Regions from separate parts of the Homo sapiens genome. Here regions 1, 2, 3, 4 and 5 are each linked to region 6. The links are contacts of gene promoters, found by promoter capture Hi-C in blood cells and fetal thymus (Javierre and others, 2016). All regions are on one chromosome and are shown on one strand. The core of a region is centred on a gene start or on the middle of the fragment in contact, and the rest is flanking DNA. Distances in the headings are between cores, read along the strand shown.

Region 1 (4,801 bases), core at 1,487-3,986, 270 kb after region 6:
AACTAAAGGGAAAACTATCAGAAATGACAAAAAAACACACAGCTAGAGTTATCCTACTTCAGGAATGAGGAAGCTAGAGTCTTTATAAATCAGCTCTCCAGAATCATTGGTTGAGAGTTTTTCTCTGTGTTGCATTCACAGGTGACATGACTTCTTACAGCAGCAATACAAGAGCTCTTAGGCACAGAGATGCAGATTCTAACAGATGGAAATTAGTCCAAGCACACTAAGATCTAATATATATGGGTGCAGTCATGAAAACTTATCTATGATCTACAATTAGCTCCACTCAAGTAAAACCTTTGCTACTTAAATGTGATGGACAGGCACAAGCTCTAGAAGAAGGAAGAAGAGGAGGTGAGAAAGAGGAGTAAGAGAAGGGACAGAAGATGAGTGGAGGACAAAAGAAAGAAAGAGAGAGAGAGAAAGAGAAAAAGAAGGAAGGAAGGGAGAGAGAGAGAAAGAAAGAAAGAGAGAAAGAAAGAAAGAAGAAAGAAAGAAAGAGAAAGAAAGAAAGAGAAAGAAAGAAAGAAGAAGAAAGGAAGGAAGAAAGGAAGGAAGAGGAAGGAGAGAGAAGAAGGAAATGAAAAGAAAGGAGAGGAAGTGAGATGTAAAATGAAGGCCAATGAAATAAGCTACACTTACTGCTGCTATAGTACAGTGCACCTGAGATTCACAGTCTCCGTTTATTACCACCAGTTCTATTCTCCCTTCACCGCTGGCCAGCACTCTTCTTGGTCTGGATAACTGCCTGATAACTGCCTTGATAACTTCCTTCCTAAATTGTCTGAGCCTCTAGTTACTATACCACTGTCCACTGTGATTGCTGTTCTTACCGATTTGTAGTTATCACTGGACATGGACACACTATGAGATTCTCCAGTGTTATGGGTTAATTTGTGTCCCCCAAAACTCATATTCAAATAGAATCATTTAAAGTGTTATGTGATAAGGCAAGGTCATATTGGAAACAATTAGGCCTCTGATTAAATATGACTGATGTCTATATAAAAGGGGGAAATTCAGAGACAGCATGCATATAACAGAAAAATTATATCAAACACACATGGAAATGATAGACATCAACAAGTCAAGGAGAGAGACCTGGAACATGTACTTCCCTCACAGGCTTCAGATGAAAACAACATTGCCAAAACCTTAATTTCTGAACTGTGAAAAGATAAATTTAAGCCACTTGGTTTACAGTAATTTATTATGGCAGTGCTGGTAAGTTAATACACTTACTAAGTATCCTGAGCTATAGATATATTCTGCTACACTATATGGCTTAAAGATAATTACCCCTCACCAAATAGTAACTCCTTTCTCTGTCTGCTGCTCTGCTGACGGGAAGAGTCCAAAATGACTAGGCGATAACGATTCCTTTTGATTATAACAAAGAAACAGAGAAGCAAATACTATAATTTTTATTCACATGGAAATTTTAAAAAGCCAAAGTCATCTACTGGATTATAACTTGATAGAGTGATTAGCTGTTTGGAAATGAGTAAGCGGATATAATTGGGAGAGAATGGCATTAATTTCTATTTCCTAACCTGGTAATGGGGACATAGATGTATTTACAATGTAATACTATATCAGGTTGGAAATTAATAATTTGCATTCTTCTCAAGTGAATGATATACCTAGACAATGTTTTCAACATGTTAGAACTCCACGATGAATCAGGTGTCATCTCAACTCATCTAATCCCTTCATTGAAAAGAAATAGAAGAAATTACTTCTACTTACTTCTTCTTCTAGTTACTGCTAGTAACTAGGTTTAGGGCTAGAGCCACAGCACATGCTGGTTGGCCTGAATTTCAACGCTTACTTCTAGTTACTGCTAGTAACTAGGTTTAGGGCTAGAGCCAGAGCACATGCTGGTTGGCCTGAATCTCAAGAAGTTACGTGATAGAAAGTCCTCCATTCTCATCCCGGAAATCCCCACACTCCCAGACAAGTCAGAATGAATGGTCGTCCTAGGGCATACATTGCTTGATGCTGTCTAAATCTCAGCAGATTTCTCTGCATCCACCTGTTCTCGATCTGCTCTGTCGCATGGAACACACTGTGCAGTCACCGTCTTCCCAAGTGACATTCAAAGAACTGAAAGACACAGATGATGTGGGTGGCACAAAGAGATGCCTGTTAGTCTTGAGTCAGAATTTGGTGGGTGAATAGTCTTGGGCCCAGGCATGGATTCATTTTGTCACTGTAAATATATCAGCATCATGCTTCTCCCCACAGACACTTCCAAGTCTATATACAGCCAAACATGAGGCTGGCCAGAGAGAACTTCCTGAGCCCCCCGGATCAACAGGAACTGTCACATGACCAGATGATGGTCAGAGCAGGAATGATGCTGATGATGAGACGGGCTTCCTTTTATCTGAAACAAACTTTCTATGAGTAACTCACAATTAAGAAACAGATTAAACCCTTAGTTTAAAAGGTTCATAAGATTTCAGTAACAACTTCCCCTTTGACAATCCCAAATGGACTGTGGAAAACAATGTAAACAGCAACAAGGAAAAGTCCTGCTGATTGGTGGAAACTTTGGAGGCCAGGTGTATAAAAGGTCCAGATTGCAAGGGGTCATCAGATTTTGGGAAACTCACCTCTTAACAGAAGCCCACCCTCCATCCCTGACACCATGACCCACTGTTGCTCCCCTTGCTGTCAGCCTACCTGCTGCAGGACCACCTGCTGGCAGCCCACCACTGTGACCACCTGCAGCAGCACACCCTGCTGTCAGCCCTCCTGCTGTGTTTCCAGCTGCTGCCAGCCTTGCTGCCACCCAACTTGCTGTCAAAACACCTGCTGTAGGACCACCTGCTGCCAGCCCATCTGTGTGACCAGCTGCTGCCAGCCTTCCTGCTGTAGCACACCCTGCTGCCAGCCCACATGCTGTGGGTCCAGCTGTGGTCAGAGCAGCTCCTGTGCACCTGTGTACTGCAGAAGAACCTGCTACCACCCCACAAGTGTTTGTCTGCCTGGTTGCCTAAACCAGAGCTGTGGCTCCAACTGCTGCCAGCCCTGCTGCCGCCCAGCCTGCTGTGAGACCACCTGCTGCAGGACCACTTGTTTCCAGCCCACCTGTGTGTACAGCTGCTGCCAGCCTTCTTGCTGCTAATCAACTCCCAAGAGAACTACCATCCTCACACAACAACCTTCAGCTCAACTGACTTGTCTTTTGAGGGACTAATTTACTTTGCTGCTGACAGCCACCATGCTCTCACCCAAATTTTTATGAATTCTCTACATGTTTAAAATCTTGGGAATCTGCTTGAGGGAGGGCAGAATACTTCATCCTCATTCCCTCTTTCCTTACACCTTGTGGATCATGTGCCAGCTTCGTCTGTTCTTAATTTGGAGTCATGATCTCAGCTTTGTCTCAAAAATCAAGAGCTTCATTCTTTGCTTCTAAGGAATTTAGGTTTCTGCAACTGATCAATCATCTTTGCAATTATATTTTCATTTTAAATATCCTTCTCATGGTTCTTGTATCCTTCTTTCTTCTTTTCACGATAACTTTGGGTTATGTCTCTGGTAGCAGAGATTCTTACCTATATGTTTCTGAATAAACTCTGAACCATCTTCATCTCATATAGTGTTTTGTTTTATTTGAAAGCATTCCTGATATGGGATTTACACACATATCACATACCATAGGTATTATCCAATTTGATTCTCAAAACAGATGGTCGTGTATTATTAACTCCATTTTTTCAGCTGAGAACAATTTAATGTGTGATGTTATGTAGCTAGTAAAGGGCAGACTCTGGTCAAAGGTGAGGTCCTCTCTTTCTGCCCAAGGACACTTACGTTTAACTCCCAATATAGTAGAAAAGACACTGGAAGTCAGCACTAGCAAGACATGTACTTGAGTTTATTTAACAATGAGAGGAATAATCTGACATATTTGCAGATAACACTTTTGTTCACACACAAAAAAATCCCAAAGTAGTTCCCCACACCTCAGTGAGCAAAGGCTGCATGATATGCATTTAATGGCTGCCCTGAATGCAGAGATCTTTTTGTCTGAGCCTCTGACCAGCCATTCATTCAATTCATCTGCATCAAAAAATGCTTGAGAATTTATTGTGGACTCAGGAGACGGAGCCTCATCTGAAGAAACTTATTCTCAGTGTGATGTAAATAAAATTCTTATACAGCATCGGTCTCCTGAATACCAATTGACAAAGTAAATGAAACTAAGTTATTCATTGTAAAATACAGACCATACGTTATGCCACGTTAAGACAATTTGTCCCCTACTTGAAGTGTTATGAGTAAAATTATGTAAGAACAAAGCTGGGAATTGAGAAACTATGCAATGGGCATGTAAGACTTGGCACAACCCATAATCTCTGAGCTAAGGAAGGGAATAAAAACAACCTTCCACATTTTGTGAGGCCAATATGAAGAATCTAAAGAAATGAAAAACTTCTTTTTCCACGGAAATCAGAAGAATGTAAGAAAGGAGCAAGGTAGAACTTGTGCATTCATAGAAGACATAATAGACAGAGGTTGGTGCTTCGGGTCCTGAACTGATGTAAGATAACCATTCACTCATGAAAGGATTGATTGATGCTGGCTCTGAGAGAAATTGAAAAGTCGGGGACCTGGGGCACCTTCTTGGGGCCTCCTACCAGCAGGGGAGTGGTAGAAATACCTCTGATGAGCTAAAAATGTAGATTTCCATGACAGATGCCAACTTCCGAGACTGTGAATCTAGAATGCTCTGAAGACTTGGCTAAGAGACAACAGCCACTTACTGTCATCATCGTTCAGGGAT
Region 2 (4,817 bases), core at 147-2,646, 470 kb after region 6:
GTGGCAACTGCAGTTCAGGAAGATCAACTGACTTGCGTAAGATCATGCATCTTGGGACCCAGTCCAACGCTCATGCCATTGCAGGGGCTGTCAGTTACCAAAGATAAGCAATAACCAGGTGCCTGATCGTGATCTGCGGCTCCTTATCCCTTGCTTTCAGCTGTCTTCCCCTCTCTCATTTTTGCCTAGGTACCTTATACCTGGTACCTTAGGGCTCCCTAATTAAATCTGGACAAAGACTCATCTGTAAGTGACTCCTCTGACTTATATATGAAACCCAATGGCTGTCTTGCTCAGTTCATCCTTCAAATCACCTCATTTTGCTCCTGGTTAATGAACTCAGGCTGCCTTATCCTCCATTTTAGGGAAATAAATGAAGGAAGACAAACATATATGCTTGGATTAATGAGGAGTTTTCCCTTCCATCTTCCATCAGCTTCGATTGTAATGAAAATTTTACTGTAGAGAATCTAGCAAGGAAGAAATGACAATGATTCCCTCACTCAACAAGTATTTGGGCATTGGGATGGAGGGTGGGGAAGGAGTCACCCTGGCCCTCCTCCGCCTGACTTACTTGATCCTAAAGTCATCGGCAGCCAGCTTGGCATTGTCAATTTGTACAATCAGCCTGGCATTCTCGGCCTTGCTGCACAGGATCTGAGGAGAACAGGAAGACAGTTCACACACAAAGCATCATGCCCTAGGCTCCTTCTCCACGTGTGGTGTCTATGATCATGTCCAAGAGAAACCAAGAACCCAAAGTTCTCTGAGCTTTACATGGATTCCTCCTGTCTTGCCTCTGCCATCTCAGACCCAGCACACCCAAGCGATCCCACACCTCACCTTCTGTTGGAGCTCCTCGATGGTGTGGAAGTAAGACTGGTAGTCGGGGCACACGGTGGACTCGTGGCACTTGCTCCTCTCGAGGAGTGTGGCCTCCAGCTCCGCATTCTCCTGCTCCAGCTGGCGCACCTTCTCCAGGTAGTTGGCCAGGCGGTCATTCAGGAACTGCATGGTCTCCTTCTCATGGCCATTCAGGGTGTTTTCACCATAGGCCCCACAGATTCCAATGTTGCCAGGAATGTGGCAGGTCCCTGGCAAGGGACAAGCAGTGTGGCAGGTAGGCGGCAGACAGAGGCTGGGGCGGCCCAGGGGAGTGGACCCCACACGGACTCGGTTGGCATGTGCCACGTTGGCCAAAAGGCACATGGGGGCAATGTTGGCCTCTGCCCCAGGCTGGCACCCAATGTCGATGGGAGAGACAGAGACATTTCTTGCTCCAGGAGCCATGGTGCAACCCAGAGGGCATGAGGAGCTGCTGTAGGAAGAGGTCATGGTGTTGGGCTGAGGCTGCACAGGAGCTTCAGATCAGCTGGGAAAGCTGAACCACTGAGACTGAAGCCTCCTCTCCTCCCAGCCCTTTTATACCCCATCCTGGGCGGGTGTTGGCTCCAATGCTTTGACCTCCTGCCTTGATTATCTACCTGTTGTGGTGCCATCATCCTGTTACTCAGCTGCTGAGTTTACCATGAAAAGTTTCTCAGCTCGTTAAAGGAATGTTGACGAATCTGAGGCCTCTTGGCTCTTTGAAATCAGGTTGGCTGTTGATGGGAGGTCAGAAGCTTTTTATTATCTTTCAAAGAAGCAAAGTTATAGCCATCAGATGCTTAGACCTTGACTGGGTTTGGCCTCTTTATGGATGTGTCCACTCTGGAGACACAAACTTTCCTGTTGGTCAGTGGTGTAGCAGGAGGACTAACCCCGGTGATGACAATGGTTCTCACTTGGGTTAAGACTCAACCAGCCTTCCCTATCCAGGGAAGAAACTGAGTCTTGGAATTGGTGGATGTTATGGCCTTGGGTTATCAAGAAGTCCTACATTTCTTCTTTCTTTAGTTGGTTGCCTTTCAGACTCACTTTGAGGAGCAACAAGACTTAGATGAATCCAGTCACTCAAAACACATCCCCTGGCTACGTCCCATATGCTACGCACCTTGCTGATGCTTGATATATAGTTGGTTAAGCACAAAATAGTTCCTGCCATTGGGGAACAACTGTAACTTGGGTAGACGTGATGTTTCAAACAAGGTATCTGAGAAGCTCATGAAAATGAGGATGACTCCAAAAACCATGGCTTATCTCGACCAAGAAGGGCAAGCTCAAGAAGCCAGAAATAAACAAAGAGAAATGAGCAATAATCTTACTGAACCTCAAATAAGAACTTGGTCATGAAAGTCAAAGGACATTGAGTGATCAGAGCCTCTGTGGGCTCTCTTCATACCTTGCTTCCTTTATTCTAAAGTCAGTCATGAGCCTTCACCCTATGAGCTAGGGGATTGAGCAATGATACCTTTTAATCTTTACTTCCAACCTGGGAGGTGGGTACTCTTAATTTTACAAAATAAATAAACAAGCCATTGAGGACAGTTTTCTAAGATCAACCTCACTATAAAGTATAAAGCCTATTCTCAACATCAGCTTCTTTCAACTCCAGAAACTGTTTCTTCACCTTGACCACCTCCAAATCCTCCACCCCAAGGATAACTACTGTGTCATTGCTAGAACTAAGAAGGATTCAAATTCCTAGAAACCGGGCAAGAAGTTGAAATTAAGATGTAAAACAAAAATCTGACATTGTGTATTTTTCCCTTTGTATCTCAGAAAATACAGATGTGGAGGTATTCATACAATAAAACAGAGTTTCTCCAAGGGCTAAATCAGAAGATGCCAGGGGAAAGTCCTGTCCCTAAAATGGTTATATTACACATTCCACATTCAGATAGTTCTTGGTACTAGGGATCCAAGACACATGGCTGCTGAGATCCCAAAACTTTTCTCCCAAAATTTGTGACAGAAGATACATAGACCCCTGAGACTAAGAAAAACCTAATGTGGAACAATCCAAAGTGATTATAACTAGAATTTTGGGAAAATGAGTTTTTGCCAGTCCCCTGAGCATTGAACAAAAGCTGAACATACACCTCTATAGGGATCAGACGTGCATATGTGAAACACAGGCTATTGGAGTTCTATCAAGAAGAAATACAGAATCTGAGAATTCAGTCCAGATTGGGCTTCTCAGGAAAGTAAGTAGTAGTGAGCGCTGACCTAAGGGTTATTCAGAGCTCACCAATCCATAACCCTTTACAGACAACATCATTGGGAGACATCACCAGGGCAGGCTGTCCCATCCTCCAGAGGCCACTGGGTGCAATCTGCATATGTTACATCTTCAAACACCCTTTTGTTACTCTCCTCCGCCTCATCACATAGCAACAAGCTTCTCTATAAATCAGAGAGCCAGGCTTTTAAAGTCATTTCCTTTGATTTGCTAAGTAGCACCCATCTTTTGGCTTTATCCTCTGCCCAGATTCATTCCATGGACTAAAAGCCACGATTTCGTCCATTCACAATACATGACTCATCACTGCTGAAGCCTTGTGTGTCCAGATGACACCCCTCTCTGCCAACTGGCTTGGGTCCTGGCTTGGGCTTCTACCTTGTACTGTTTTGCATAATGATACTGATGTTGCATGGCTCTTTGTAAAATCGCTTTGTTCCCCTGATTTGTATTTTCTCAAAGGAGGTGAAGGAGCGGGTGGGGATCCTAAGACTCTCTTCCTTCCCAACCCTTTAAAAAGAGTCCCTGTGGCCCCTGGTGACCGAATATGAGGCCAGGTTCAGTAACAAGAAGTGATGAATACAGAGTGTGAGAGATGGGAGCCTGCTGCCCTCCTTCATTCACCTGTGTGCACAACATTCTCTGTGTGGATTCTGACTTTAGACATGCCGATCTCTAGAGGCATGAAGTCTACTGCAAATGGAGGTGAGGAGCTGTGGTCTTGGAATGCCATTTTCACTAATTTTGATACATAGGGGCATATCTCAACCAATGGGAGAGAAAGGTATGGAGCTGTAGGCTAGCACCTGGAGATTGTGCCTAACTCAAAGTTTATCTTTTCTGTGTCATGGCTCCTACTGCTGGAAGATGCAGGGAGGCATCTAGGGAGTTGTGCCCTGTGTGGGAACGTCACCCATCACACATTGCAGTGAATGCAAAGATTTATGACAAGTACTATATGTAGAGTTAGTGCTGCCACATCTCCAGGGTGTTAGAAAATGGTGTCCCAAACAATCCTAGATCAAGAAACCATGAAGACTCTTGAGAGAAGAGGCTGAGCATATAAATGTATTATTCTAGGTATCCAACTCCTGAGGCTTTGATGAATGGAAAAGGTACACTTCTGTTCAAATTAAATATGATTTTATCTATATATGAATGTATGCTCATTTGTGATTAAGAAATACAAACTAAAGAGATATTGTTTTCTTATCAGGTTTTGCTAAGTTGGATAATAGCACACAGTGTTGGCATGAGTGTGGGAAACAAGTCCTATCCTCTCCTGTGGATGACAGTCACGAGCTTCCACCTCTGCACATAGGCACAGAAACCGGGGCCCGTGCGTTGGGACCTGTGAGCCTCACACCTGCCTCTGATGGCATCATTTGCTGCTCCAGGCTTCACTGCAATCGACCCACTTGGAGAGTAGCTCAGGAGGCTCACCCTGCCCTGGCAAGCAATAGTGAGGGAAGAGACTCCAGAAGATGAATTAGAAAGAGTTGGAAAATCTTTGAGAAGCAAGACCCTAAGAAGGGAAGAAAATATAGAATTCTGTTTCAACCAGAATAAAAACAGATCTTTGGCACAGGTCAAAGATCCTCATTGTGGAAAATATTGAACTGCTTTCTGTTGCTCATTACAAACCCATGATTATGAAACATGCTGAGTCTGAAACAGCTCAGTGGCCGTTCTCTGT
Region 3 (4,665 bases), core at 1,300-3,799, 360 kb after region 6:
CCCTCCCACCTGAGTTCTGACTAGGGACTGTATCCCAGGCCCAACAGCCCTGGGATGAGGGTGGTAAGGCAGGAAGCCCCCAGCCAGCCTGAACCCTGGGAGGCAGTCCCAGAAGGCAGTCCCAGGAGCCACCTCCCATGCCCATACAGCTTTCCCACCCCAGGCGGCACACACTCCCTCCCTCTGGGATCAGCAGCCTACAGGCGTGTCCTGTCAGGCCACGGGGGCCACACAGAGACCCTGAGGACTCTAGAGACCCAGGCAGGTGGGGCCTGACCCGGAAAGATCTGCATGGGCTCACTGGAGATGCTGACCATATCTGTTTTCCTTTCAGCCAAACCTAAGCAAGGGTCCTCAGCACCCAGGCCTGAGCTGGCTTCACCGTGTGGCAGGAAGACCCTCTGCAAGGGGAGTAGGCAGGCTCCTCCAGGCCCACAAGCCCACTTCCAGCAGTGCATTTGGTCAGCTTCCCCGCCATGGGTGCCTCTTCCTTTCACACCCTGTCCTGTCTTGGTGGGGCTATCCCAGGGTGTGCCCAGACTGGCCCCAGCTCAGGGAGGACCTCGGGTTTCCTGGAGGTACCTGCAGTGGAACTCCCTGCCTCAGCTCCCAATGGACTCGGACGTGGTGAGCCCTTGGTTTCCCCATTATGATTTCGAACAGGGCTGTTGGGCCCGTGTCCCCTCCAAATGTGTCCTGGACAGCCCTGGGACCATGGGACAGACCTAGCCCAGGAAGCCCATGGGGACCTCGACACCAGGCCCTGCCCAGGCCCATCAGGACTAAGAAGGAGATCAGGAGATACCCCCACTGCAACATGGGCACCTGTATCTGGAAGGAACCAGGGTGGCACCCACCAGCTTCCCCGCAGCCCCAGATACCTTGGAAGATCCCATTCAATGGGGAAGCTGGTCCCATCAAGGCCACAAGAGAGAGACGTGAGCACGGCATCCCTGCAGCCCCAGACAGCCAGCAGTATGGACCTGGGGCACAATACCCAGGCCAAGAGTGGCCTGGCCTAGACCCCAGCCCTGGGAAGAGAGGGGTACCAGGGCTGTGGTGGGCTCCCAGCTGCAGTCAGCATGACCATGCAGGGGACCCTGGCACTGCAGAGCTCTGCATTGTCACAATTCACCTTACAGAACCGGGGAGAGATCTCGAAGCCTTGCAGCCACTGCTGCAGCCACAGCAGGTGCCACCACCACGTGCCTTCCAGCTGCCAGTGCAGGCTCTCCTGACAGCAGGGCACCCTGCAGCCCTCACCTCAGCAGCTCAGACTCTGAAGGTATCTGTTGTTCATGTTCCCAGTGCTCCCACCAAAGAGAATTACTACAGAGAATACTCTTGGTCCTGAGGTGGGCAAAACAGCATGCCCTGTGGATGGAGCCGGCTTCTTTCCCAGCCACCATGCTTGCTGGATGGGCCCGCAGAGCAAGTGGCCATGAGACGGGCATGGGGACGGGAGAGGCTCAGCATCCTGCACATGCCCTTACCAAGGCTCACCAGGCTGACACCACTGCTGAGCGCCTTGTCTGTGGAAAACAGATTCACACCCAACCCCTGGGATGGCACCATTTCCCAGAAGGACCAGCTGGCCACCTACTGGCAGGCTGACCACACTGCGGAAGGGGCTGAGATTGGCTTTCACTGCACTGAGCCACAACGTGGACATGCACTTGCCGGCCCTGCAGTGCACACAGCACTGCTTCCGACCAGGGCACCCCATTCACAGCTAGGGACAAGCAGCAGTACACTCCCGAGGCCCCACAACCCAAACAAGCTTCCCATCCTCGTTTTACTTTTTTGTTAAACTTATGAAAATTTATGAAGAAAGTGCACAGCTCTAAAGACATTAACAGATGGAACACATCAGCCCCCAGATCACAAAGCCAACCCAGCCTCTGCGCCCCCAGCCCTGCAACCAGTGTTCTGACTTCTGACAACACCATGAGCCTGCCTTTTGTACTTTACACTCATGGAAGGATAACCACGTCCATGTTTTAAAATAAATGTTTACTTTTGAAATGATTTTAGATATATAGAAAAACTGAAAAGGCATTATAGTGTACTCCGACACCTTCCGTCCAGCTGCCCCTAATAATGACATTTTGCATTACCATGGCACATTTGTCCAAATTAAGAAATTTAGGCCAGGTGTGGTGGCTCACACCTGTAATCCCAGCAGTTTGAGAGGCCAAGGCAGGAGGTTAAGGTTCATTTGAGTCCTGGAGTTTGAGACCAGCCTGGGCAACATAGGTAGACCCTATCCCTGGAGAAAAGTTAAAAAAAAAAAAAAAAAAAAATAAGGAGCCAGGCATGGTGGCGTGTGCCTATAGTCCCACCTAATCAGGAGGCTGAAGCAGGAGGATCGCTTGAGCCCAAGAGATCCAGGAAGCAGTGAGCTATGATCGCACCACTGCATTCCAGCCTGGGCGACAGAATGAGACTTTCTCTCTTAAAAAAAAAATTAAGGAATTTAACATGGGTGCAATCCTGTTAACTGAATAATAATGTTAACTATTATTTAAGGTTATTAATGCTGTCACTATATTAATATGGTGAAATTCATTCAGATTTCACCTGTTTTTGCTTAACTTCTGGTACCTGTCCCAGGATCCCACCTCGGACTCACCTTCTGTCTTTAGGTCATTCCTCCTTAGCTTCCTTCAGAGGTTGCAACCAAACACACACCTTGGCTGAATGGTAGAGCTGATTGCTCCTGGGCTCCAAACCTCTGCAGCATGTTACCATACTGAGTACCATAGGTAGTGGTAACACAATGATGGCTATTTGTGTATCTAAACACAGAAAAGAATGATAAAAATACAGTATAAATGATAAAAAAAAAAAAAAATTGGTACACCTGGCCAGATGTAGTGGTTCATGCCTATAATCCCAGCACTTTGAGAGACCATGCCGGGAGGATCACTTGAGCCCAGAAGTTCTAGACTAGTCTGGGCAACATAAAAAGACCCCATCTCTTTTTAGATATCAATTTTTAGAGATGGTACACCTGTATAGGGCAGCTCCATTATAACCTTATGGGACCACCATTCTATATGCATTCTGGCACGGACTGAAATGTTGCTATCTGACACATGATTGCATAGGTAAGTAATCTAGAGATGATTTAAAGCATATGGGAAGATGTGCTTAGGTTATATGCAAATACTGTACCATTTTATATCAAGACTGGAGCATCTGTGGATTTTGGTATTTGTGGGAGGTGGTGAAACTGATTCCCGACGTACGCAGAGAGACAACTGTAAACATTTCGGACCCCACAGAAGGCTCAATTGCCTGCCCCCTCACCCTCAGGTAAGCTTTCTAAAGTGTTTGTTTCACTTTACCTGCTCATCCGTGAGCCAGAGGGCTCCATCAACAGCTTGGGCTGTCTCAGAAAGACCTGGATTCAATCCCATTCAGCCACTTAGTAGCTGTGTCACTTTGGGCAAATCATGTAACTTCTCTGAACCTCAGTGTCCTCATCTGTAAATTGGGCCGATGGTGACCCTTACTTTGCAGGCCCCCGTGAGGACTAAGTGAGATGAAAGCTGACACCCCAAGTGACACCACTTCTCCCTTCCTCAGACTCAACAGGAAAACGCCTTCACTGCCCAATGCAAAGGCTATGGGGAGGATGAGAGGCTCCAGGGATCCCCTGTCCCAGGAGCATAAACCCTGGATTTTTGCTTCCAGAAATAACCTTCTCTAGGATCAGGATGGTTCTTAACTCCCCAAAGACTGTGAGCCCACCCTAGGCGGCATCTTCAGCAGTGGGGAAGGGGATGCACAGTGCCAGCCTCACCCTGGCCACTGTCTGCCCTCATGACTCAGAGCCCAGCTAGGTCCCCACGCAGAGCAGTGCAGGAACCTACCTTGGTCCCAGGCTCCAGCCATCCCGGCCACCCCCACCTGCCACCACCCTGTCTCCTCCATCCCTCAGCCCCTGCTTGCCTCGTTCACAGCTCAGTGTCCTGACATCTTAGCTCCTTGCATGTCACCGTCGTCTGTCTCCTCAAGGGGAGTGCAGCACAAGGGCAGGAAACTCGGTCAGTCTGTGGATGTGTCTCTGGTGTCAGGCAGAGATTAAAAGCTCCATATATACTTGCCCAGTGTCTGCGTGCATTCCAAAGCAAGAGACAGCTTTGGAAATGAGAAGAGACCCTCCTGAGGTGAGAGTCCTTAGTTGGCATTTCCCAAGTATTCTCGGCATGCCAGGCACTGAGCTGGACCCATGGACATGTGAGCTCTGGACCCTGTGGGTGCTGTCACTCATGTACAGGTGGGTCCGCCTGGACCTGGTGCAGTCACATAGCTCCCTGATAGCTAAGCTGAAATTGGAACCCGTTCAGTTTGGCTCTTGCTCTGCTCAATGGCTCCCCAGCTGCTCCAAGGGAGAGCTGAAGCCTTGCAGTGGCCTCAGGTCATTGAACCTGGGCCTTCTCTCCCTGAGCTATCTCCTGCTCTCCCCTAGCTCACACCAGGCCAGATGCAGGCTTCCCCTCTGGGCCTCAGGCATGCCAATCATGCTCCTGCCTCAGGGCCTTTGCACAAGCCATTCCCGCTGCCTGGAATGCTCTCTGCCTAGAAAACTGCTTGGCTGACCCATCACCTCCTACAAACCTTGCTCAAACCTTGCTTCATCAATGAGGACAACCCTGG
Region 4 (4,605 bases), core at 1,211-3,710, 460 kb after region 6:
CCAGGATCTCCGACTGGCAGCACTGCAGCTCCTCGGAGCAGGACATGGCCTGCAGGCTGATGCCTTCAGACTGGAGCACAGAGAAACACAGTCACCTCCCTGCTCAGATGGAGGCCAGGTACTCCCTGGCTCTGTAACCCCCACTCACCTGGGCTTGGAACCACTGTTCCACATCCTGGTGGTTGGTCTCCACCATGGCCTCGTACTGAGCCCGCATCTCCCCCAACACCCTGTTCAGGTCAATGGTGGGCTCAATGTCCAGCTCGATCCGGAACTTCTCCCCCAGCTGACTCCTCAGAATCTTTACTTCCTGCAGAAATGGAAGCGATAGACAGCCTGCGTAAGGAAACGGCCTTTGATGGAGCAGACAGCACCAGGACTCCGTCCCTGGCAAGCAGTAGGAGGGGAGTCCCACACATAAGCAAATGGGAAAGTCTTGTCCAGAGTGCATTTGGGAGAGCCCACCTGGACACCTTCCTCATGCCCAAGGCAAGTCTGCACTTTCCACAGAGGCCCTCTGGACCCTCAGACCCACCTCAGCCCTGCATCCTTAGGCCAGCTGAGCCCAGGCAATGCTCTGAGAGCCCCAGGGCCGGGGAGCTCCCCTGTCTGCCCAGCGCCCTCCCCAGGAGTCTGAGCAGCCAGGGCCACACCTGCTCGTGGTTGCTCTTGAGGGAGAGCTGCTCCTCCTTCAGGGACTCCTGCTGGGCCTCCAGGTCGGCCTTGGCCAGGGTCGCGTCATCCAGGAGCTTCTGCGTCCCGCACTTGTCCGCCTCCACCAGCTGGTGAAGGGAGCGCTCACTCTCCAGCCTTCCGTCACAGGAGGCACAGGGTCAAAAAGAATGCCCCAATAGCCCCTCTCAGCTGCCCTGGCTTCCTACCTCCCACACCACCTTGGATCCTTATTTGTTCACGTGGGCAGTATACACTATTCTCAACCCTGCAGCGACACGGTTTGTAGTCAGGACATTATGCCCATTGACCAGATGGAAGACTGAGGCTCAGAAACAAAACACGAGTTGTTCAGAATTCCATGCCCAGTTAATAGTAAATGCATGGACTCATCCTAAGTGTTCTGACTTCAAATGCAGCATTTATTCTGCCATAATAGGAGTCATTTGGCCAGGAAAAAGAATGGCTAAAAATAAGCCTCTGGACCTTCAGTTTGCTGCTTTTCCTCTTGGATTCATTATTTCTCGTTGTTTTCTTGCTTTTCCCCTTCATTCAAGCACAACTCTAGCTACCAAGGAGCTTCAATGACAATTCCTCCAGCTGATGGATTTGGCCAAGAGTCAGAGAGTCTAGCAACAACCTATGCATTGACAGTTTATTTTTGTGATGACTCAATTTTACTTCTGATTGAAAAGCAAAATCCTCTTATCTTCTAGATATGGGAGAAAGTGACATAGGTTCTAACCAATCTAGACTACAGCCCTTCTTTTTCTTTCAATGCTTATATTCTCTTTCCTCCTATATAATGACCATTTCTAGCAACAGGCTAATTTAAGGTGTGGAGAGAAATATTCTTCTAGTCAAAAACTGTTTTTGAACACCTACAATATAGACTGAGTAATGGGGCGGGCCCTTGGAAATACAGCAGGAGAGAAGTCACACTGACCCTCCTCATCCTGACTTACTTGATCCTAAAGTCATCAGCAGCCAGCTTCGCGTTGTCAATTTGTACAATCAGCCTGGCATTCTCAGCCTTGCTGCACAGGATCTGAGGAAAACGGAAAGACGGTTCACACACAAAGCACCATACTCTAAGCTCCCACTCCATGTGTGGTATTTACGCTCATGTCCAAGAGAAACCAAGAACCCAAAGCTCTCTGGACCTTATGCAGATTCCTCCTGCGAAGGCTTCTGCCTTCTCAGACCCAGCATGCCCAGGCGATCCCACACCTCACCTTCTGCTGGAGCTCCTCGATTGTACGGAAGTAGGACTGGTAGTCGGGGCACACGGTGGACTCGTGGCACTTGCTCCTCTCGAGGAGTGTGGTCTCCAGCTCTGCATTCTCCTGCTCCAGCTGGCGCACCTTCTCCAGGTAGTTGGCCAGGCGGTCATTCAGGAACTTCATGGTCTCCTTCTCATGGCCATTCAGGGTGTTTTTGCCGTAGGCCCCACAGATTCCGATGTTGCCGGGAATGTGACAGGTCCCTGGCAAGGGACAAGCAGTGTGACTGGTTGGGGGCAGACAGAGGCTGGGGCGGCCCAGGGGAGTCGACCCCACACGGACTCTGTTGGCGTGTGCCACGTTGGCCAAGAGGCACATGGAGGCAGCATTGGCCTCTGCCACAGGCTGGCACCCAACATCGATAGGAGAGACAAAGACATTTCTTGCTCCAGGAGCCATGGTGCAACCCAGAGGGCATGAGGAGGTGCTGTAGAAGGAGGTCATGGTGTAGGGCTGAGGCTGCACAGGAGCTTCAGATCAGCTGGGAAGGCTGAGCCACTGAGACTGAAGCCTCCTCTCCTCCCAACCCTTTTATACCCCATCCTGGGCGGGTGTTGGCTCCAGTGCTTTGACCTCCTGCCTTGATTATCTACCTGTTGTGGTGCCATCATCCTGTTACTCAGCTGCTGAGTTTACCATGAGAAGTTCCTCAGCTCATTAAAGCAATGTTGACAAATCTGAGATGCCTCTTGGCTCTTCCATATCAGGTTAGCTGTTGGTGGGAAGTCAGAGACTCACTGTTTCTGCTCAACAAACACCAGCAGTTGATTCAGGCCCCAATTGCTCTCTCTGGACTATGGTCTCTGTGGATGTGGTCACAATGAAGGCTCAAATCTTTCCGTCAGTAATTTGTGTAGCAGGAGACACAGAGAACCAATGGGACCCACTGGATCTTTCGCCTGTGCAAGACTGAATCAGCCTTTCCTTTGAAGAGAAAATATCAGTTAATAAAACCAATGCATCTACTGATATTTGACGATTGAGAGGCGCCTTTTTTTCTTTCTTCTTTCACATTGCATACTCCCTTGAGAAGCAATAACATCTGGAAGCAATGGCGCTAATTAAGTTTTGGTTGACTAGTCAGAATCAGCTATTCATTCATTTGTTCATTCATTCATTGGTTCAGCATGCTTCCTGAATATCCCCCATAACTCAGGCAGTGTGCTGGTTCCTGGACACGCAATGTTCCCTGTTCATCAGGAGTAAACAATGCCTCTGAAATCTCTGGATGTTCTACACAAACTTGAATGAGAACCATAGATCAACAAGAGTTAGTGAAAGACAGAGGATCTATAGTTCTGGCCAAGGAAGTATCTAGAAAGAAATCACTAACAAAGAAAAATCTTATTTGATCCAGGAAAGGGAGATTGGGCACAGAGCTCAAGCAGTATTCAAATGAAAGGTCCAGAACTAACATTGATTGAGTACTTAGGTGTGCTAGGCATTCTACTGTGTTCTTTCCTATCTAACCCTTACCACCTATGAGGTGGTTACTCATTGCCTCAATGTACAGATGAGAAAACTAGAGTGAAGTACATTTGCACATTTTCTGATTGACAGTTAGTGAACTGGCAAAGGCTCGATTCAGTCTCATGTCTGCTAGGCCCATTCTCTTTTCACTTCATCATGGCCCCCGGTGAGAACAACGGTGTCATTGCCCCGTCAGTGCTGGGCCTAAGGAGAGGGCAAGAAGGGGCTTAGTTACTGGATGAGAAATTGTGGTGAAAAGAAAATTACTGAAGGTCTTTGTGTTCCAGCAAAGGAAAAGATTTAAATACTATGGCAGTGACAACAAGAAAATGCACTTTAAAAAGTTAAACTAGGCCGGGCGCGGTGGCTCACGCCTGTAATCCCTGTACTTTGGGAGGCCAAGGCAGGCGGATCACCTGAGGTCAGGAGTTCGAGACCAGCATGAACAACATGGAGAAAACCGGTCTCTACTAAAAATATAAAATTAGCCGGGCATGGTGGTACATGCCTGTAATCCCAGCTACTCAGGAGGCTGAGGAGGAGAATTGCTTGAACCCGGGAGGCGGAGGTTTCCGTGAGCCAAGATTGCGCCATTGCACTCCAGCCTGAGCAACAAGATTGACACTTTGTCTCAAAAAAGAAAAAAAAAGTTACGCTAGTTTGTAACATATGCATCATTTAAGACAGGGTGCGTCCTGAGAAATGCGTCGTTAAGAGATTTCTTCACTGTGGAAACATTATAGGGGGAACTCACACAAACCTAGATGGTAGAGCCTACTACACACCTAGACTGTATAGCACAGCCTATAGCACCTGGCTACAAACCTGTACAGCATGTTGCTGTACTGAGTATCATAGGCAACTATTATTAACACGATAATATTTGTGTATCTAAACATAGAAAAGGTAATGCATTGCACTACGACATTATAACCACTTCCACATCACTAGAGAATAGGAATTTTCAGCATCATTATAATCTTGTGGGACCACCGCCCGTATATGTGGTCTGTCGTTGACAGAAACATTCTGACTGTATATCCCAAATCCCAGAGATTTCCAGTAGAGCTGGAAAACAAGTCAACCAATGGGGGTGTGGCCAGGAGTCATCCCTCCCAAGTGGTAGAGGGAAACCAGAAGGACCATGGGACAAGCTCTAAAAGAGTATAAATAAACTCTT
Region 5 (4,913 bases), core at 630-3,129, 300 kb after region 6:
TGCCTGATGGGTCTTACCCTCTAGTTACTTACTACACCATTGTCCAACTGTGGTTGCTTTTGTTACTCATTTGTGTTTATCAATGGGCATGGATACACTACGAGATATTCCAAGGTTATGGGTCGAATTGTGTCCCCAAGAACTCATATTCAAATAGGGTCACTTAAATGCAAGATGGTAAGATAAGGTCATATTGGAATAAATTGTGCTTCTGATTCAATGTGACTGGTGTCTGTATAAACAGGGGAAATTCAAACAGGATGCATATAGAGGGAAGATGATGTAAGAGACACATGGAGAAGATAGACATCTACAGGTCAAGGAGAGAGACCTGAAACAGATATTTCCCTCACAGCCCTCAGATGAAAACAACATTGCCAACACCTTTATTTTAGCCTTCAGAACTGTGAGAAAATAAACTTCAGCCACTTGATTTGCCATAGTTTTTAATGGCAGTGTAATGCTTTAATATATATAGTAAATTTCTTGAGTTTCAGATATATTCTCCCTACGCTCTATGGCTTCACGAAAATTATCCCTCATGGAATATTAACTCCTTTATCTACCTGCTGGTCTGCTAACATGAAGGATCCAAAATGAAATGACCAGGTTATAATTGCTGCTTTTGATTATGCCAAAAACACAGTGAAGCAAATTCTATAATTTTTATTTACATAAAAGTCAAAGAAAAAAACAAAACTGACCTACAGGATTAAAACTTGATAGAGTGACTAGCTACCTTTGGAGATAAGTAAAAAGATATAATTTGGAGGGAATGGAATTAATTTCTATTTTGTAAACTGGTAATGGGGACTTAGATGTATTTATAATGTAATATTATATCAAGTTGGAATTCATAATTTGCACTCTTCTGAAATGAATGGTATAATTTAAAAAGTTTTAAACAATGGTAAACCTCAAAGAGGAATCAGATATCATCTCAACTCACCTAATTCCCTCACTGAAAACAGAGAGACAGAGAGAGAGAGAGAGAGAGAGACAGAGACAGAGACAGAGACAGAGACAGAGACAGAGAAATGGCAATGATTGTGCCAGTAACCTGGATTAGGGCTAGAGCCACAGCTCATATTGCTTTGCCTGGACCTCAAGCAGTAATGTCACAGTAATTCCCAGTCCCACATTCTCATGCTGGTAAGCCCCTCAGTCCCAGACAAATCAGGGTGAATGGTCACCGCAGCACGTAGATTGCTTGATGCTTTGTGAATTCCAGTGAACCCCTCCTCTTTCTACGTGTTTGCTTTGGCTCTGCTCTGCCACATAGCACACATTGTGCTGAACACCCTCTTCCCAAGAGGCTTTTATAGAACTGGAAGAGACAGGTAAAGTAGGTTGTACATAGAGAGATGCCTATCAGTCTTGAATCAGACTTTGGTGGGTGAACAGTCTTGGTCCCAAGCATGGATTCAATTCACCACTGTGAATATATCAACATCATGCTTCTCCCCACAGACACTTCCCAGTCTACATACAGCCAAAGGATGAGACTGGGCAGAGAGAACTTCCTGAGCCTCCCCAGTCACCAGGAACTATCACATGACGAGATGCTGGTCAGAGCAGGAACGAAGCTGATGATGAGACTGCCTTCCTTTTATCTGAAACAAAGTTTCTACGAGTAATTTACAATTAAGAAACAGATTAAACCCTTACTTTCCAAAGATTCATAACATTTAGGAAATGACTTCCTCTTTGACAATGCCAAACTGACTATGGAAAACAACTGTAAACAGCAAGAAAGAAAAATCCTGCTGATTGGTGGAAACTTTGGAGGCCACATGTATAAAAGGTCCAGATTGCAAGGGGTCATCAAATCCTGGGAAACTCACCTCTGAACAGAAGCCCACCCTCCACCCCTGACAACATGACCCACTGTTGCTCCCCTGGCTGTCAGCCTACCTGCTGCAGGACCACTTGCTGCAGGACTACCTGCTGGCAGCCCACCATTGTGACCACCTGCAGCAGCACACCCTGCTGCCAGCCCTCCTGCTGTGTGTCCAGCTGCTGCCAGCCTTACTGCCACCCAACTTGCTGTCAAAACACCTGCTGCAGGACCACCTGCTGCCAGCCCACCTGTGTGACCAGCTGCTGCCAGCCTTCCTGCTGCAGCACACCCTGCTACCAGCCCATCTGCTGTGGGTCCAGCTGCTGTGGCCAAACCAGCTGTGGGTCCAGCTGTGGCCAGAGCAGCTCCTGTGCACCTGTGTACTGCAGAAGAACCTGCTACCACCCCACGACTGTCTGCCTGCCTGGTTGCCTCAACCAGAGCTGTGGATCCAGCTGCTGCCAGCCCTGCTACTGCCCAGCCTGCTGTGTGTCCAGCTGCTGCCAGCATTCTTGTTGCTGAGCAGCACCACAGAGGACCATCATCCTCACACAACAACCTTCTGCTCAACTGACCTTTTTTTTCTTTTGAGACGGAGCCTCACTGTCACCCAGGCTGGAGTGCAGTAGCACGCTCTCGGCTCGCTGCAACCTCCATCTTCTGGGTTCAAGTGATTCTCCTGCCTCAGCCTCCTGAGTAGCTGGGATTACATGCCTGTGCCACCACGCCTGGCTAATTTTTTGTATTTTTAGTATTTTTAGTAGTTTTCACCATGTTGATCAGACTTGTCTGGAACTCCTGCCCTCAGGTGATCCACCTGCCTCAGCCTCCCAAAGTGCTGGGATTACAGGTGTGAGCTACCACACCCAGACCCAACTCACTTATCTTTCAGAAGACAGATTTACTTTCAAACTTTACTGATACACAGTATGCTTTCACCAATTTTTTTTATTTCTTTGCCTGTTTAAAATCTTGGGAATCAGCTTGAGGGAGGGCAGAATACTTCATCCTGATTCTTTTTTCCTTACACTTTGTGGATCATGTGCCAGCTTCATGTGTTCTCAATGTGGAGACATGGTCTCCATTCGACTCTAAAGTCAAGAGCTTCATTCTCTCCTTCTAAGAAACTTAGGTTTCTGCAACTGATCAATAATCTTTGCAATCATATTTTTGTTTTCAATTTTGTCCTCATGTTTCTTTTACCCTTCTTTCTTCTTTTCATTGTAACTTTGGGCTATGTCCCTAGTAGCAGGGATTCTTACCTATATATTTCTGAATAAATTCTGAACCATCCTTCATCTCATATGGTGTTTTATTTTACAGAATTGCTGATATGAGATTTACACACATATTGCATGCTATATGTATTATCCAATTTGATTCTGAAAACAGAGTTATTATTATGTATTATTACCTCAATTTTTCAGCTGAGAACAATTTAGTGTGTGATTTTATGTAGCTAATAAAGGACAGACTCTAGTCCAAGGTGAGAGCTTCTCTTTCTGCCCAAGAACACTTACATTTAACTCTCGGTAAAGTAGAAATGATATTGAGACTCAGCAATAGCAAGACATGCACTTGAGTTTATTTAATGTGGGAGGTATAATCTCTCATATTTGCAGACGACATTTCTGTTCACAAAGGTCTTCCCAAATTAGTTTTCCACACCTCAGTGAGTAATAGCTACATGGGATGACAACAGGGACGGCATTTAATAGCTGCCCTGAGTGAGGATCCCTTTTTGTCTCAGTCTTTGACCAGCTATTTATTCAATTAATCTGCATCAGAAAATTTTGAGAATGCATTGTGTCCTCATGAGAGAGGATCTCATTTGGGGATTTTTTTCCTGGTATCACGTAAATAATATTCTTATATGGCTTCCTTCTCCTGAATACCTGTTGACAAAGCAAAAAGAATTTAAGTTATTCCTTCTAAAATATGGACCATACATTAAGCCACATTAAGTCAAATTGTCCCTCAAATCAAAATGTTATTAGGAAAATTAAGTGAAACAAATTTGGGGATTGAGGGACTATGCAATGGGCATGTATGACTTTGTACAAACCATAAAGGTATAAAACAACCTTCTGAGTTTTGTGAGGCAAATAGGAAGCATCTCAAGAAACCAAAAACCTGTGTTTCCAGGGAAATCAGAAGAATTTAAGAAGGAGGAAACGTGGAAGAACTTTCTCATTCATGGAAGTCATGATAGATGGAAAACTGGCGCTTTTGTTCCTGAACTGATGATGCAACTGAAGTATTCAGTCATGGAGGGATTCATTGATACTGGCCCTGAGAGAATTAGAAAAGTTAGGGACCTGGGCCACCTTCTTGGGACCTCCTACCGGCATGGGAGTGGTAGAAATACCTCTGAGGAGCTAACAATGTAGGTTTCCAGGACAGATACCAGCTTCTGAGGTGGTGTATCTAGAATGCTCAGAAGACTCAGCTAAGGGACAAAAGCCACTGACTGTGATAGTTGTTGCATAATGGGGTAAAGAAACTGAAGAACTATCACATTCTCTTTGACCAACATCGGTTATGCAAGATGAGTCAGTTCTGCAGATCTAGTGTACAGCAACGTGACTATAGTTAACAAAAATGCTTTATTTTATACCTGAAATGTGCTAAGAAGGTAGATCTGGAGTGTTGCTAAGAAGGTAGATCTGAAGTGTTTACACCACAAAAATAAAAAGGAAATGGTAACTATGTGAGCTAAGGAATATATGATAATTCACAATAAGTATATACATATCTCAAAACATCACCTCGTACACATTAAATATACACAATTTTATTTTTATTTATCAATTATGCCTCAATAAAGCTAGTAAAGAAAGAAGTGAGTTGATCTGGTTAATTATTATTCATGTATTCTTATCTTCAACATTAAAATTAGGAGTTCTCTGGACAAAAAAAAAACTAATATGTCCTAGGTTGCCTACTATTTAATGGGTATTGATTAAATGCTTTATGAACATTATCATTAATTCTTGAAGAAACATTCAAAGTAGGTATTAATGTTCCCATTGTAGAGATGAGAAAATTGAGTCTGAGAGAGGAAATGTAATAT
Region 6 (4,729 bases), core at 610-3,109:
AGCTACTTGGGAGGCTGAGGCAGGAGAATGGCATGAACCCAGGAAGCGGAGCTAGCAGTGAGCCGAGATCGCGCCACTGCACTGCAGCCTGGGAGACAGAGCGAGACTCCGTCTCAAAAAAAAAAAAAAATACAAAAATTATCTGGGTGTGGTGGTGCGTGCCTGTAGACCCAGCTACTAGAGAGGCAGAGGAGGGAGAATCGCTTGAACCTGGGAGCTGGAGGTTGCAGTGAGCAGAGATCGCGCCATTGCACTCCAGCCTGGTGACAGAGTGAGACTCCATCTCAATAAATACATAAATAAATAAATAAAAAATAAAATAAAATCCATCCTAAATTTATATAAATACCATGATCCACTAGAATGTCAACTCCATGAGGGCAGGGACTTTTTAAAGGTCACCAATATTTTCCCAGAATCTAGAACAATGTTTGGCCCAATGTTGTTGCTGCTCAGTAAACATTTGTTGAATGAATAAAACTGAATAAATCCAGATATGTAGTAGCAGAATACGTCTGTGCATAACAAACTTAGGTTTGGTGTAGAAACAAACCAAGCAATGTGGAGATGATAACATAAGCATAAAAGGAGAAAAAGGTGGTGATGGTTGAAAAATGGATAAAAACTAAATTGCTTAGAAACTCATTAAAGCAAAATTTATTTTCTCTGATCTCTGTTTCCCTATTTTTATTTAAAAAATGGCAACAACTTGCTGTTAACATCTTTTGGTCCTGAGTCATCTAGTTATAATGGTAGAGTGTATTTCTGGAGAAAGGAAACACCATGAGACTCTTCTTTTTGTTTCTGATTTTTAAAGACATAGTCTCACTTTTGTCTGGGCTGGAGTGCAGTGGCAGGATCTTGGCTCATGGCAGCCTCAACCTCTTGGGCTCAAGTGATCCTCCCACCTCAGCCTCCCAAGTAGCTGGGACCACAGGCATGTGCCACCACGCCCATCTAATTTTTTTTTGTGTGTGTATGTGTGTGTGTGTGTGTGTGTGTGTAAGGATGGAATTTCATCATGTTGCCCAGGATGGTCTAGAACTCCTGGGCTCAAGTGATCTGTCTGCCTCAGCCTCCCAAAGTGTTAGGATTACAGGTGTGCATCACTGCGCCTGACCAGAAATACTATCAGACTCTGAATGCTGCCTCAAGATGACAATTTCACTCAAGAAATTTTTCTATTCTTCAAAAAAATTTTCAGCATCAACTGAACAAAAAATATTAAAGTTTAGCAAATAACTGTTGCTTGGAAACCATTAATTCACAACACGATTAAACAGGTTCTTAGGAATCTTACCTTCTGCTGGAGCTCCTCAATGGTAGTGTAGTAAGACAGGTAATCAGGACATAGAACAGGGAGCTCTTTGTTACTTTCTTCCTGGATTTTAGATTCCAGTTCAGCATTCTCTCGTTCTAGCATTCGCACCTTTTGCAGGTAGTTAGCAAGGCGCTCGTTCAAGATTTGCATGGTCTCCTTCTCATTACTGTTGATGCCTTCACCATACCAGCTGCAGTCATCCAGAGAAAAACGGGCATTGAAGTTGTTCATTAGGTAGATGGGCTTGCGACAAAAGCGAGGAGTGGGTTGGCAGCCCTGGTCCCAGGGAATTCTGAGAACGTGGCCAGCTGGTTGACAGTTGTTGACTGTAAGGCCACCAGGATGGCAGCCGTTGTTAGAAGAGATGGTACTAACATTTGTAATCCTAGAGCAGTTTTGACATGGGGTTGAAGGAGAATTGGTTGTTGTACAGCCCTTGGTGTCCATAGTATGTGTCTGGCTTTAGTTTGTTCCAGGTCTGTGGTCACCAGGATGAAAAGCTCAAGCCACCTCCACAGAGTCTGAATTCCAAGGCTCTTGGTGTTTTCCTCTTTGAAGTGCTTATATAGCCTCTCTTCTACGTGGTGTCACACAGGTGGGATGTTTTCCTTTCTCAGGTTTATATCAAATCCTGTAGGAACATCTTATTAGTCTGCTTTTTACTTGCTTAAGAAGAGTTATTTGTCTCATAAACATGTGCATTTAGGCTGTTAGTAAGTTATTACCCATCATAACTACTACTTGTCTATTGGACCCAGAGCTTCAAATTATGTCTTCAAAAGGAACTGTCCTAACAGCATCCATTATTAAGCAGGTGTGAGTATACTAAGTTCATTACATTCTTGTTGACCTCTCCACTTGGCACTGAGCTTAACCAGGAATGAGTTCATCCTTCTTTTCCTTTCTTCTCTAGAAAAGGGAAACTATTAATGTTTAATAATTATTGGTAAACTTAGAAATCAGAAGTCAATATTTTAGTTTGTTCTGCCCAAATGGTTTCCCCATTTTCAGTGTCAGGACAATGTGAGTATGAATTAAAATGTTAGTCTTTTAAAAGTCTTGTTTTAAAGATAATTGCTAGATTTATGTTTTAGCTTTCCATAAAATGTAATAACATAAAATAAAATATAAATAAAATATGAAATAAAATAAAAGCCATGGGGAAAAGGTAGGGTTTGATTGCTAATAAGAAATTTCTTGGAAAAGAGACTAGCTCTCTTTTGGTTTTCCAAAGTCCACATTTTATAACATTTTTAGTGCTTGGTGTTTGCTTGTGGTATTACATTAGATAAAAATGTATCACAGTGTTGGTTTATACTGGATGTTTAAATAGGATTCATTGAAAGGGGTGTGTTTTCTTTCTGAGGAATACTTACTCAGCATTTTCTTCAGAAAGTTACTTGCTGCTAATCCTTTATGGAGGCTCTAGGGGAACATCATTTTCTTGCCTTTTCCAGCTTCTACAGGCTGTCCACATCCTCAGCTAGTGGCCCCTTTTCATCCTTTTTTTTTTTTCTTGAATTATGAGATTTTTTGTACTTTGAGTTCTGGGATACATGTGCAGAACGTGCAGGTTTGCTACATAGGTATACAAGTGCCATGGTGGTTTGCTGTACCCATCAACCTGTCATCTACATTAGGTATTTCTCCTAATGCTATCCCACCCCTAGCCCCTCACCCCCTCACAGTCCCCGGTGTGATGTTCCCCTCCCTGTGTCCATGTGTGCTCATTGTTCAACTCCCACTTATGAGTGAGAACATGCAGTGTTTGGTTTTCTGTTCCTGTGTGAGTTTGCTGAGAATGATGGTTTCCAGCTTTATTCATGTCCCTGCAAAGGACATGAACTAATCCTTTATTATGGCTGTATAGTATTCCATGGTGTATATGTGCCACATTTTCTTTATCCAGTCCATCATTGATGGGCATTTGGGTTGGTTCCATGTCTTTGCTATTGTGAATAGTGCTGCAATAAACATACATGTGCATGTGTCTTTATAGTAGAATGATTTATAATCCTTTGGGTATGTATCAAGTAATAGGATTGCTGGGTCAAACTGTATTTATGGTTCTTGATCCTTAAGAAATTGCCACACTGTCTTCTGCATTGGTTGAACTAATTTACACTCCCACCAACTGTGTAAAAGTGTTCCAATTTCTCTCCATCCTCTCCAGCATCTGTTGTTTCCTGACTTTTTAATGATTGTCATTCTAACTGGTGTGAGATGGTATCTCATTGTGGTTTGATTTGCATTTCTCTAGTGACCAGTGATGATGAGCTTTTTTCATATGTTTGTTGGCCACATAAATGTCTTCTTTTGAGAAGTGTCTTTCTATATCCTTAGCCCATTTTTTTGATGGGGTTGTTTGTTTTTTCTTGTAAATTTGTTTAAGTTCCTTGTAGATTCTGTATATTAGCCCTTTGTCAGATGGACAGATTGCAAAAATTTTCTCCCATTCTGTAGGAGGCTGAGGCAGAAGAATTACTTGAACCCAGGAGTTCAAGTTCAGGTGGGCAACACAGTGCGATTTCATTTTTAATAAAATAAAATAAAATACAAAATAAAAGCCATGGGGAAAAGGTAGACCGTTATATGTATTATATGTACTTTGGGGACAATTTTGTATTCCCTTTGGTGTGGGGGCAGGGAATGTTGAAACCATACTTCATCCTTTACAGTGGGACGAATTACAAGTAGATCAAAGATTGAGATATGAAAAATAAATAATAAATATGCCCAAAAGGATAATTATTTTATAAATTTGGAGTCAGAAGACTTTTCCAATGATGACTCAAAATTAAGAAGCCGTAAAAAACTGTTAGATTTGACTCCATAAAATAACAGTGTTTGAACTTGTGCTTGGGTGAAAAATACAACCTGTAAAACCAGAAGACAAGATGACAAACTGGGAAACAATATTACAATTACACTCTAGACAGTGACCAAAAGGAAAATACAAAAGGCACTTAAAATAAGAAAAAATGCTCAATGTCACTCATGAAAAGAGAAATGTAAATTTAAATTATACTGAGATATTTTAGTTTTCCACCTATCAAACTGAAAAAAATCAAAGTTTGATAACAGATACATTCACTGCCTATAGCACTCTCATTGCTTGTGGCAATGAAATGTAAATTCATGCAAGTTACTATAATGCTACTACAATTAAAACAGTGTGATATTGGCATAAGGGTTGGAAAGTAGATCAATGAGAAAGAATATAGAGTTTAGAAATAGACTCACATATATGTGGTCAATTGATTTCTGACAAAGATCCCAAAGCAAGTCAATGAGAAAAGGAAAGCTTTTTCAATACTGTTTTTTCAATACTGTTCAATACTTGTCGCTGAATCAAGTGGATACTTGTATAGCCAAAATGAATACATCTTGATCTCTACCTCACGCTAC

Evidence for each region. Contacts are between HindIII fragments. The CHiCAGO score rates a contact against its expected background, and 5 or more counts as called.
Region 1: a contact is called between a fragment that was not itself captured here and the fragment with the promoter of KRT39 in region 6, in 2 of 17 cell types (total B cells and non-activated CD4 T cells). The highest score is 6.1, in total B cells.
Region 2: the fragment with the promoter of KRT38 here is called in contact with the fragment with the promoter of KRT39 in region 6 in 17 of 17 cell types (non-activated CD4 T cells, activated CD4 T cells, total CD4 T cells and 14 more); the score reaches 13.3 in non-activated CD4 T cells.
Region 3: a fragment that was not itself captured here is called in contact with the fragment with the promoter of KRT39 in region 6 in 3 of 17 cell types (M2 macrophages, naive B cells and M0 macrophages); the score reaches 7.3 in M2 macrophages.
Region 4: the fragment with the promoter of KRT37 here is called in contact with the fragment with the promoter of KRT39 in region 6 in 17 of 17 cell types (naive CD8 T cells, activated CD4 T cells, total B cells and 14 more); the score reaches 15.3 in naive CD8 T cells.
Region 5: the fragment with the promoter of KRTAP9-6 here is called in contact with the fragment with the promoter of KRT39 in region 6 in 6 of 17 cell types (naive B cells, erythroblasts, total B cells and 3 more); the score reaches 7.3 in naive B cells.

What each region holds. Positions count from the first base shown.
Region 1 is chr17:41,229,846-41,234,646 of GRCh38, forward strand. KRTAP9-3 (keratin associated protein 9-3) reads left to right here and starts at 2,604. Exons shown (of 1, transcript NM_031962.3): 1 at 2,604-3,609. The coding sequence starts at 2,657. The coding sequence ends at 3,136. The HindIII fragment of the contact is 5,484 bases long and covers 1-4,801 here.
Region 2 is chr17:41,439,587-41,444,403 of GRCh38, forward strand. It overlaps KRT38 (keratin 38), which reads right to left and starts at 1,397. Exons shown (of 7, transcript NM_006771.4): 1 at 844-1,397; 2 at 575-657. The coding sequence starts at 1,335. RefSeq lists an enhancer at 1,053-1,553. The HindIII fragment of the contact is 7,679 bases long and covers 1-1,620 here.
Region 3 is chr17:41,327,916-41,332,580 of GRCh38, forward strand. It overlaps the pseudogene TBC1D3P7. Among named protein-coding and RNA genes, the nearest start is that of KRTAP17-1, 15 kb to the left of the region's middle. RefSeq lists an enhancer at 1,626-2,195. The HindIII fragment of the contact is 1,543 bases long and covers 1,779-3,321 here.
Region 4 is chr17:41,422,125-41,426,729 of GRCh38, forward strand. KRT37 (keratin 37) reads right to left here and starts at 2,461. Exons shown (of 7, transcript NM_003770.5): 1 at 1,908-2,461; 2 at 1,638-1,720; 3 at 654-810; 4 at 149-310; 5 at 1-70. The coding sequence starts at 2,399. The HindIII fragment of the contact is 11,234 bases long and covers 1-4,605 here.
Region 5 is chr17:41,263,499-41,268,411 of GRCh38, forward strand. KRTAP9-6 (keratin associated protein 9-6) reads left to right here and starts at 1,880. Exons shown (of 1, transcript NM_001277331.1): 1 at 1,880-2,362. The coding sequence starts at 1,880. The coding sequence ends at 2,362. The HindIII fragment of the contact is 5,841 bases long and covers 1-4,913 here.
Region 6 is chr17:40,965,089-40,969,817 of GRCh38, forward strand. KRT39 (keratin 39) reads right to left here and starts at 1,860. Exons shown (of 7, transcript NM_213656.4): 1 at 1,301-1,860. The coding sequence starts at 1,768. The region is part of intron 1 of LOC107985072 (a long non-coding RNA gene); the gene reads left to right. The HindIII fragment of the contact is 5,044 bases long and covers 1-4,623 here.